2 separate regions of the Homo sapiens genome follow, and region 1 is linked to region 2. Evidence: promoter capture Hi-C in human tissues and cell types (Jung and others, 2019). All regions are on one chromosome and are shown on one strand. Each heading gives the region's core, a stretch centred on a gene start or on the middle of the fragment in contact. The rest is flanking DNA. Distances are from core to core; before and after follow the strand shown.

Region 1 (4,915 bases), core at 329-2,828, 200 kb after region 2:
TGGAATGTAGTAAGTGTACACAAGATGCTACTTTTGTTCATGTTAAGTCTCCAATGCTGCCTTCACCTTTTTCTAACTCAAAGCATTTGAAATATCTCCTATTTAAAAAGGCAAATGGAGGCCGTAAAGTAAAAGTCCATAACTTCCCTCTCTCTTTCACTTCTAAATTTAAATATTTGGTGCTACCTTTCCCCTTCTCAGATGAAGCCCTCACTCTTCTTTCTCAGATAATTTATTCCACCTATACTCTTTTTATTTATTTATTTATTTTAATTTGAGATGAAGTCTCACTCTTGTTGCCCAGGCTGGAATGCAATGGCGCAATCTTGGCTCACTGCAACGTCTGCCTCCTGGGTTCAAGCGATTCTCCTGCCTCAGCCTCCCAAGTTGCTGGGATTACAGGCACCCACCAGGACGCCCAGCTAATTTTTGTATTATTAGTAGGGACGGGGTTTCACCATGTTGGCCAGGCCTGTCTTGAACTCCTGACCTCAGGCCAAACACCCGCCTCAGCCTCCCAGAGTGCTGGGATTACAGGCGTGAGCCACCGTGCCCGGCCCCACCTATACTCTTGATGACATCTCTTTGTTTCTTCATTACTTTAATCCACCAAATATCCTTTTTTTTCTATCCACCTCTACCTTCCAGAATATAAAAATGTTTTAGAGTTCTCTATTCTGAAATAAAAATTATAAAACAAACAAAAATTTTGCCTCAAGCTTACTTAACCTACAAGCTGATTTATTGACTCCAGCATTTTCTAAAATGTCTTGAACGAATAGTCTGTATTTGCTATCTTTGCTTCCTCAACTTCCATTTACTCTTCCACTCAAGGTGCATCTATCACTTTGTTGAAACGGACTGGTTATTGTTACCTACAGCCTTCTAGTTGGTAAATGTCTTCCTTAACTCATTTTCCTCCACTGCTTCCTTGCTGCATCTGACAGTGTTAGTAATTTTCAAATAGAAGCTTTCTTCCTTTCATTTTTAGGACCATGTTTTCCCCATAGTTTTGAAATGCTGAGGCTGGTCACGGTGGCTCACGCCTGTAATCCCAGCACTTTGGGAGGCCAAAACGGGCGCATCACCTGAGGTCAGGAGTTTGAGACCAGCCTGGCCAACGTGGCAAAATCCCATCTCTACTAAAAATACAAAAATTAGCCAGGAGTGGTGATGTGTGCCTGTAGTCCCGGCTGCTCTGGGGGCTGAGGCAGGAGAATCACTTGAACCCCGGAGGCGGAGTTTGCAGTGAGCCGAGACTGAGCCACTGCACTCTGGCATGGGTGACAAAATGAGACTCCATCTCAAAAAAAAAAAAAAATGCTGAATATTCTGCCTTCCTAGCCTTTTAAATGTTGATGATTGCAGGAATTCTTTTCTTGGTCCGTGTTTTCCAACATTGCATGCTTTCCTTGGTATTCTTATTTCTTTACATAGCTACATCTACCCTCTGTTGGATGGCTCCAAAATCATATTCCCATAATTGGTCTTTATCTAGAAATCTATAATCACATTTTCTATGCTTACTGGACATTTATCCCTAAAGTAATTCCCTAGAGACAATGTAAGATAACCATTCTTTTAACAAATAAAACTCTACACATTCAGGTTGACAAAGGAGGGAGGACCTCTTGACAAGAGGAAGAGACAGATCCTATGCTTCCTTCATGACTCTACTCTCCAACAAAAGAGACCAAAGAGACAATCACGAGATTTTGTGCCATGTTTCAAAGACTATATTCTCTAATTTGTCCATGCATTCACTATGCTGATTCCTTTACTTGGAAAACTCTTATCCTTATTCTCTGTTTGGAACATCCTAACTCATCCATCAAGACTGAGATCACACATTATCTCCTCTATTAAGCTTATCTCAACCTCTATCAGATGAAGCTACTTACTTCAATGATTAATTTGGATTTTAATTGTACTTAAGACAAAACTTAATTTTGAATTAGTATCTCAAGAGACTGTCATTTCTAACTATATCTTCATGCTTCAACATAATGCTGGCAGCAGTCATTGAAATCATTCATTGAAAACATGTAATAAACATATATATATATATATATATATATCAGGTCATTATTTTACTTAACGTTATTTAACTTAACCTAGTTATTTATAAACTATTAATTGCTAGACCCTTAAATAGTTGTTGCATTAATATAAATCAATAAAAGATGCTTCTGAATAGAATTGAGTATTATGTTGACTTTTAAATTTAAAACTGGTATGTTCAAATATTTGAATACTCTTTAAATTTTTTTTGAATTTTTAAAATCAATATTGAAAATTCAAGATCACATATATGCAAGTATATATATGATGATCTTTCCAGCTTTCTGGACTAATTACTCTTTGACTGTTTCCTCTTCTATACTAATCATTTATAAATCATAATTTAAATGTTTATTTCTTATATAATGTCTTTAGTGAACTGCTTTTATTTCAACCCTGATTTGGAATCAATCATAGGCTATCTATCAGGCTGTGCAAATAAACCTTTGCTTAACTCAAATTAACAAAGCCTTGGTTGAATACATCAGGGGAGGCAGTATCTAGTCTGTCTTGCTATAATTCTTCTGTGACCTAAGCCAGTTCATATAACTGATGCTTTGTTATTGTGATGACACTTTTACTTTATACCCTTTTTCTGTCAGAAGTGGATACCTAATGGGCTCTTTCATGTTCCAAGTGTTCAGATTTTTGTTCAGGAGCTCTAATCCAACCCTTGGGGTCCTACTTTTGGTTTTGTCCCTTCTTCAATCCAATACCCCGTCACCATGTCAGAAAGGTCCTGTACAAAGGTACTCCACTACCCTGTCTCTTTCTGATTTGATGGTTAGTATGGGCAGTAACTGGACGTCTCTTTGCTGTGTCAGCTTTATTCTATTCTTATCATACTTGTTCTGGCTTTACCATTACAGAGCTGCTCAAATTCTGGCTCTCAGTTCCAACAGTCTCTTCTCTCTGTATTCCCCTTCTGGTTTCCCCAGTCCCTCATATCTACACCCTCACAACTTGGACTACTTCATCGACACAAGCTACTAAGAAGGAGAGTTGCTACAATGTACTGGAAATTCCAAGGATGTTTTATTAGCTATGCTGCAGAATTAGAGGAAAGTGCTAAAGTTCAAATACTTCTACCTGACAGAGCAGTGCTTCCTCATGGGGGGCATAGAAGTTCTGGTAAACTCTCAGGAGGGTGGAGGGTTCCTGGCCAGGAACATCAGGAAGGGGACTGAGTGAAAACACGTAACTCTACATGATGTAGAGGATGGTCTAAACATACAGTTGTAGGGAAAAAGGCTATAAAAAACAAAACAAAACAAAACCCACAAACAAAAACCTGACCCCGAGTATAGCAGCTTTAGCAAACGTAGAAAAAAGAAAAGAGAAAAATAACAAGCAAGTAAACTCTTCACTGATGGTGTTTTTCTTTGGGAACTTTCTATAGGATTCCCATTCCTTAAGTGGCTAAATCACTGTTGAGATAATAGAAATTTACATTGGCTAAATATGTGAGAGTATAAAAGTAAAGGAGCCAAGTGGACAGTGAGTAGTTAAACAGAAAATTGCCTGCCTTGTTTCCAAACAGAACTGAGTCTGGTAAACATCTCTTCAGTCCAGTGATGTCTAAATAAAAATCAGCAAACCTTGGGGCTAAGGAAAGGATCGGCATCCAAAATGTGGTAGCACAGGATATTGAAAAGAGATTGAAAAGTATTTATTAATTAAAGAAATGGAAATAGGACATAATATTATTTGTTTGACTTCTAAGTAAAACTCAAATATAATGTGAATTTTTGGAATAAGATATGAAAGATTCTGTAAAGGCTGGAGGGGAATTTAACACATCTTCAATAGTGGTTATCTCCAAATATTTGAATTATGAAAAAATCATTAATTACAGGTTTATGTATGTACATTCTACATTTTTTCTCCATAATATGTAGATTTAATTTGAAAGTAATCATGTTGCTTCATTCATTTATAGTTATGCAAGTTTTTGCCTTCCTCTTTGTAAAGAATTCAAAGAACAGAGACAAGTTGAAAGTACTGATTGAACATTACCCCAATCTTAGTCTTTTCTTTGGAAAAAAATAAAACAAAAAACACTCTCACCAGCTTACATTGTCTTGCAGACCTTTTCCTCTCTGGAAGGACGCAATCCAAACTGATGACAGTGGTGATATTAATTGTATATATACACACATGTATATATGTGTGTGTATCCATACCTGTAGGCTTAAAAATCTGTTTCTTGCTGGATGTGTAACATGGGGCAGGTTACTCTTTCTGATGGTGGCTCAGTGTCCTCCTCCATAAAATGGAGCTTACCTCACATATAGGGTTGCTGTGATGATTAAATTAATGTAAATAAAGCACCTAGAATACTACTTGGCAAATAGTAAATGTTGTATGACTATAGCTATCATTGTCATATCAACGGCAGACCCAGCTGCAGCAGCAGCATCACCATATCTTTCTTTTTTGTACTTATTTTCTAAATTCTTCAGTGGCATCAACTATTGCCATTGCATGTTGGTTCACAAATCTGAATCTTAGTGCTAACATACATTTTGATATGCTGTATCGAGTTTTTATTATTTTCTGCCATTATTTAAAAAAACATACAAATTGGCAAATCACATTCCCCATATGAAATGTTATCAGGTTTTCTTAAAAACCCGTCCTTTCATTCATTTCTACTATGCTTCTACTTTTTTCCTTTTCATCCATGCTTAACACCTAATTTTTGTAACCTAACTTTTCCCCAAGTTGAATCAGTAGCAGAATCCTTTTGGCTGTATCCATAAACTGTTTTTCTAATCCATTTCTTTTTCTATTCCTCCTGCCAGGACTATCATTATCTTTGACTGCTATCACTAACTTCCTTACTGTTTTTACA
Region 2 (4,780 bases), core at 431-2,930:
TCTAAACAACCCATTATTCTGGCATTTACTTCTAAATTGCTCCAACTTAATCTGAAGGATGAGATGTAAAACCAAAGACAGATCTTGGCATTCATAACATATATTCTCTTGTCAACACTTTAGAGGTGCATATTTTGTGTACTAATGAAATGATTGTAATGTCTCACATTGTCTCAGTTCTATAGTAGAGTTAGGACAGGCACTATGCAATCTTAAGTAGAATTTCAGCTATGTGAGAGTAGCCATGAATTTGCAATAAAAGGTGTAGGCACCACATTTACTTTTCCTATAATCCTACTATTAGATAACACATATAAGAGCTGCTATTTATTTTGTCATTTGTTTCCATCCTAGAAGAAAGCAAAAGAGAATTTTGAAGGTACAATGTATCACATTTAGAGCAACCTTTAGGTCTGTAGCTCATCAGACTGGCTTTTAAAATATGCAAGCATTCCAGGTTAAAAGTCTCTAAATAACTTCATGTCATTTTACTGTTAAATAATGTTTAGAGTTTGCTATCTTTTGTAGACCTTGGAAATCTAATTATTTATAATGTCCAGTGACATTTACATTTTGCTAAATATACTCTGCTTGTACAAGAACATCTCATGATTAGAAAAATGGGTAGAGAATGCCTGGCTGTACATATGCTTCTATATAATGCAAAAATATCAGGGTGACACATGTTATCTTTTTGTTATAGTTTCGTGATTTTAAAACATAATTCTCAAAAAGTTTTTAACTATTAGCATTTAAAATACAGAATAAGAAAAAGTTATCATAGTTGAGATCAGTGTTTACCATTTAACTCTCCACTATCAAATCAAATATCTATTCAAGTTTATTGGTATCTTAACATAATACCATTCATTTCCATGCCAACAGCTCCTGAGTGTTTGGCTTAGTTTTTGAGATTGATTGAAGGTAGATTGTAAAGTTGACCTATTGTGTTAAGCTTATTTACACAAACACAGTGCCTTGGAAAATCAACTCTGGAAGTCCATAGCAGTTGAATCCTAAGGTATTGCACATCCTAAGTTTTCTAATACCTGCTTTATAGAAATCCCTTGGGTGGTGAATCTCAACTTTGCCAGTTACCTTACCTGGGGGAAATTACTTCAACATTCCTAAATTTGAAGTAAAATTTAGGAATTGCTTTAGGACAAAGGATTTGCCTTTAATTTCATTTGACCAATTTGCTTAAGTAAATAATTTATCATTTCTATCAAATTTATGAGACAGTCACAGATGAACTTTTTTTTTTCAGGCTCTTGAAACACACTTTTCTTAAAAGAGTTTAAAAATAACATCCCTAAGATATAAGCAATAGAAAAAGACTTAATTTTGAAAAAAACCTTATGGCAACAGTGAAAAACAGAATTTGGATTCTGGATGGTTACAAATAGATTATTTTCAAAAGAAGTTGGATTTATTCAACTTAGGTCAATTTATCTTGGTAAGAATTTAAAAGCGCTTTCTGATGCCACATCCTTGTCTGTCACCTATTCTTAAATAATCAGTCTATGTCATCACCCCTCCCGAACTCCCCATTTCCCCCATCAAAATGTGGACTTCTCTCCTGCTGCTGAGTAACGTGGGGCTGGTTATGACTGGGAGGGAGGATGGGAGCGAGGCACGTGGACCAGAAATACTTCCTAGAAACAGCAAGTACGCTGCTCAACCCTGCCTGAACTTTCCTGTAAACAGCCACTGACAGACTGCATCCCTGCTGGGTGGATCCTGCGACTCCTAGAGGGAATGGCACTTCTTGTTTTTAATTAGCAAGGTGAAAGGTGAATTAAAACTAGCAGTTTGGCAAGTCAGTGCAAGAGGCTGACTTCTGAGAGGCTTCCAGGAGCCCGAAGAGAGGACCTCCACGGGAGAAGGGAGTGCGTGTGCTCGGTTTTGTTTTTTTCTCTCTTTTTTTTTTTTTTTTCTGAATGAACAGCTTTGCCCAAGTGACTGAAAAATACAGCTTCTTCCTGAATCTACCGGCGTAGTTGCTGAAGAGCGCTCTAGACAGGACATGGCTCTGAAGACTCACTCTTTGGAATGTCCTCTTGCTCCCGGCTTATAAACAACTGTCCCGAGGAAAGAAAGGTTTTACATAGCCAAATACAGCCTGACAAATGGCACTTCGGAACTGTGCTTTCTGATGACAACGCGTTCGATTTCTGACAAAGCCTCTCGCACGCTGCCCCTGGAGGGAAGTCCTAAGTAAAACTCAGACCCTCCTTAAAGTGAGGAGCGAGGGCTTGGACGGTGAACACGGCAGCATGGCATCCGCGGGGCACATTATCACCTTGCTCCTGTGGGGTTACTTACTGGAGCTTTGGACAGGAGGTCATACAGCTGATACTACCCACCCCCGGTTACGCCTGTCACATAAAGGTAGGTTACCTTTCCAGATCCTTTTGTTTAAAAAAAAAAAAAAAGAAAAAGAAAAAAGAAAAAAAAAGTCGTTTAACATTAACATAGGCTTATGGTCTTCAAAGACCTTTAAAATGCACCTGAAAAATTTATTGCAAAACTGACCTAAAATTCTAAGTACCTCTGATTAATGTGTCATACTCACCTCATCTGAAAACAGTGCAAAATCACATGTCAACTTAGAGATGTTATTTTTGTCTGTAAACATTGGATTTTATCAATAAGGAGTTCACTCACTAGCCCGCGGAACACAGGAAGGGAGGAAGCAGGTTGAAAATAGCCTTGAGAGGCTGAATCCACCAAGTTAACAGTAGATATTTAAATATCAGTTTATGCATATGAGAAACAAGGATGCTGGGAAAGGGCTATAGAAATAGGGGTGCAATTTGTTCTTTTTGTTTTTGTTTTGTTTTGTTTCCATAATGGAGGTAAGAGGAGAAAATAAAAATCCCGAGGAGAAAAATGATGCCCTACCCATAACTGTCATCATCATGTAATTAAAATGATTAACAACTAATATAAATTAGTTTTCCAGTTGAATTGATTATTAGAATTTTTTCATGTGTGGCAAAGGAAAATAGTTTATGACAATGCTTGTAAAATGGCTAATATGGATTAAAGTATTAGTATTCACTAGCATTTGTAGTGTAAATTTATATTGCCTTAATGAAGATCTAACAGCAAATGTTTAAATATTTCATTCTACAATTGTCTTGTAAAGCAACATCATACTCATAAATAAATGATTAAAAGATAGATTTTGCATCAGGACCAATACAAGCCAGTCATGAATAGGTTTGGTAATTCCTCCTGTAAACAAACAAATAATAAACAAAACCATGCTCAGAGAAAGTGACTTTGCTGACTTAATATAAATTCGGAATAAATTGTCAGCAAAGAAGTATTTATTATCACTAGCCATTGACACATTGAGACAGATAGCAGATGTAATACTCAGGATTACATAAGAATCATTTTTCAATTGTGTAAGCTTTTAAATTGTCCCCCACTGTAGAAAGAACAGAAGCTTGTATTTTCTAAGTACAGGTAGAATATTTATCAGGAGAAACAAAAAGGGAGTCCTCAATTTTATGTGACACGTTTGGCCTTTTTGTCTTTTTATTGGACAATCTTCAGTAAATGTTGACTATAGAAATTTTTTCATTTTTAGAATAGTGGATGTTTTCTTAGTTTAAATAGATTTCCTATAATACTATCCAGTAGATAATATAAATTTAAGAAATCCATTGATACTAAATTGGTAAAGTGTTTAAAATATAGTGCCCAGAATTAACACTAATCTTTTAACTTGGGAAGATGTATCATGGTATGTATCAAAATGCCTATTTCTAAGAAGTTTATCATCAAAGATGTCAACATGTACAAATTTGATGTGATGGAATATGGACAAATAAAAATGCAAAAAAATATAATTGATTGTTTTTCTTATGTAGACAAGTAGATAAGCTGCCAGTTTTTGCAAGCTACAATTCTGTTATATCTAGTATTAACATTTTATACCCTATTATTGGGGTACTTGTGTTTTCATGGTTCAATATCAGTGTGTTTTCCAACAGGTCACATTTTAATATTTCATAAGAGAGTTAATAATTTGATCAAAAAATACCAAAGTTCTCTGATACAAGTAAATGTTATGCATAATACTATTATCGAGTTCATCTTTATTATGTCACTTATATTCAAAGAAATAATTGTAACTGATGTTATGAGTGGTGTCATATGGTGTGAGAGTAAAACCGCTAGTATCTATATGTACAATAGACTGAAAACTCCCACAGGATTTCCCTTAACTTTGAATTTAATGGAACCAGCTGAAAATGCACAATATGATGTTTTTATACAAAGGCAGAATAGAGAGAGTTACCTGAAAATAGAATGTTCCTACTTGTGCAATTTAGTTAGTAAAGTCAGTTAAGAGATCACACTGGAGATGCTACCTGAAGCAGCAAATGCCTACTGCACCTCAGGGGCCTCAGTGAAAAGAAGAGCATATATACTGTCAGAGGAGGGATATTCAGTCCCACCAATACAATATGAACAGCCCATTTATCTCTCTAGACTCTGGAATTCAGTGAATATTTTAGAAGTCTTCAAAAACTAGGAATAAGATATTACAGATTAATCTTTTGCTGACTTGACTAATGTCAGTAACGACAAGTGTTCAGTAGCGAGTGAATTAAGTAATTAATATTTAAATGAGTATATAATCTTTCAATATAAGAGGCACTAGGTATATGTCATATAGCATCTCTGTACCGCTGCCTGACCACTAGCAAGGAAATCCAGGAGGCTCCCTGGAGATAGCCTACTAGAATAATTCAGAAATTCT

What was found. Contacts are between HindIII fragments. The study calls those that stand out against the background at their distance.
Region 1: a contact is called between a fragment that was not itself captured here and the fragment with the promoter of SEMA3E in region 2, in 2 of the 25 tissues and cell types used here (spleen and stomach).

What each region holds. Positions count from the first base shown.
Region 1 is chr7:83,441,080-83,445,994 of GRCh38, reverse strand. All of the region lies in intron 4 of SEMA3E (semaphorin 3E), which reads left to right. Among named protein-coding and RNA genes, the nearest start is that of SEMA3E, 210 kb to the left of the region's middle. The HindIII fragment of the contact is 4,069 bases long and covers 1-3,612 here.
Region 2 is chr7:83,646,039-83,650,818 of GRCh38, reverse strand. SEMA3E (semaphorin 3E) reads left to right here and starts at 1,680. Exons shown (of 17, transcript NM_012431.3): 1 at 1,680-2,391. The coding sequence starts at 2,277. The HindIII fragment of the contact is 5,454 bases long and covers 1-4,587 here.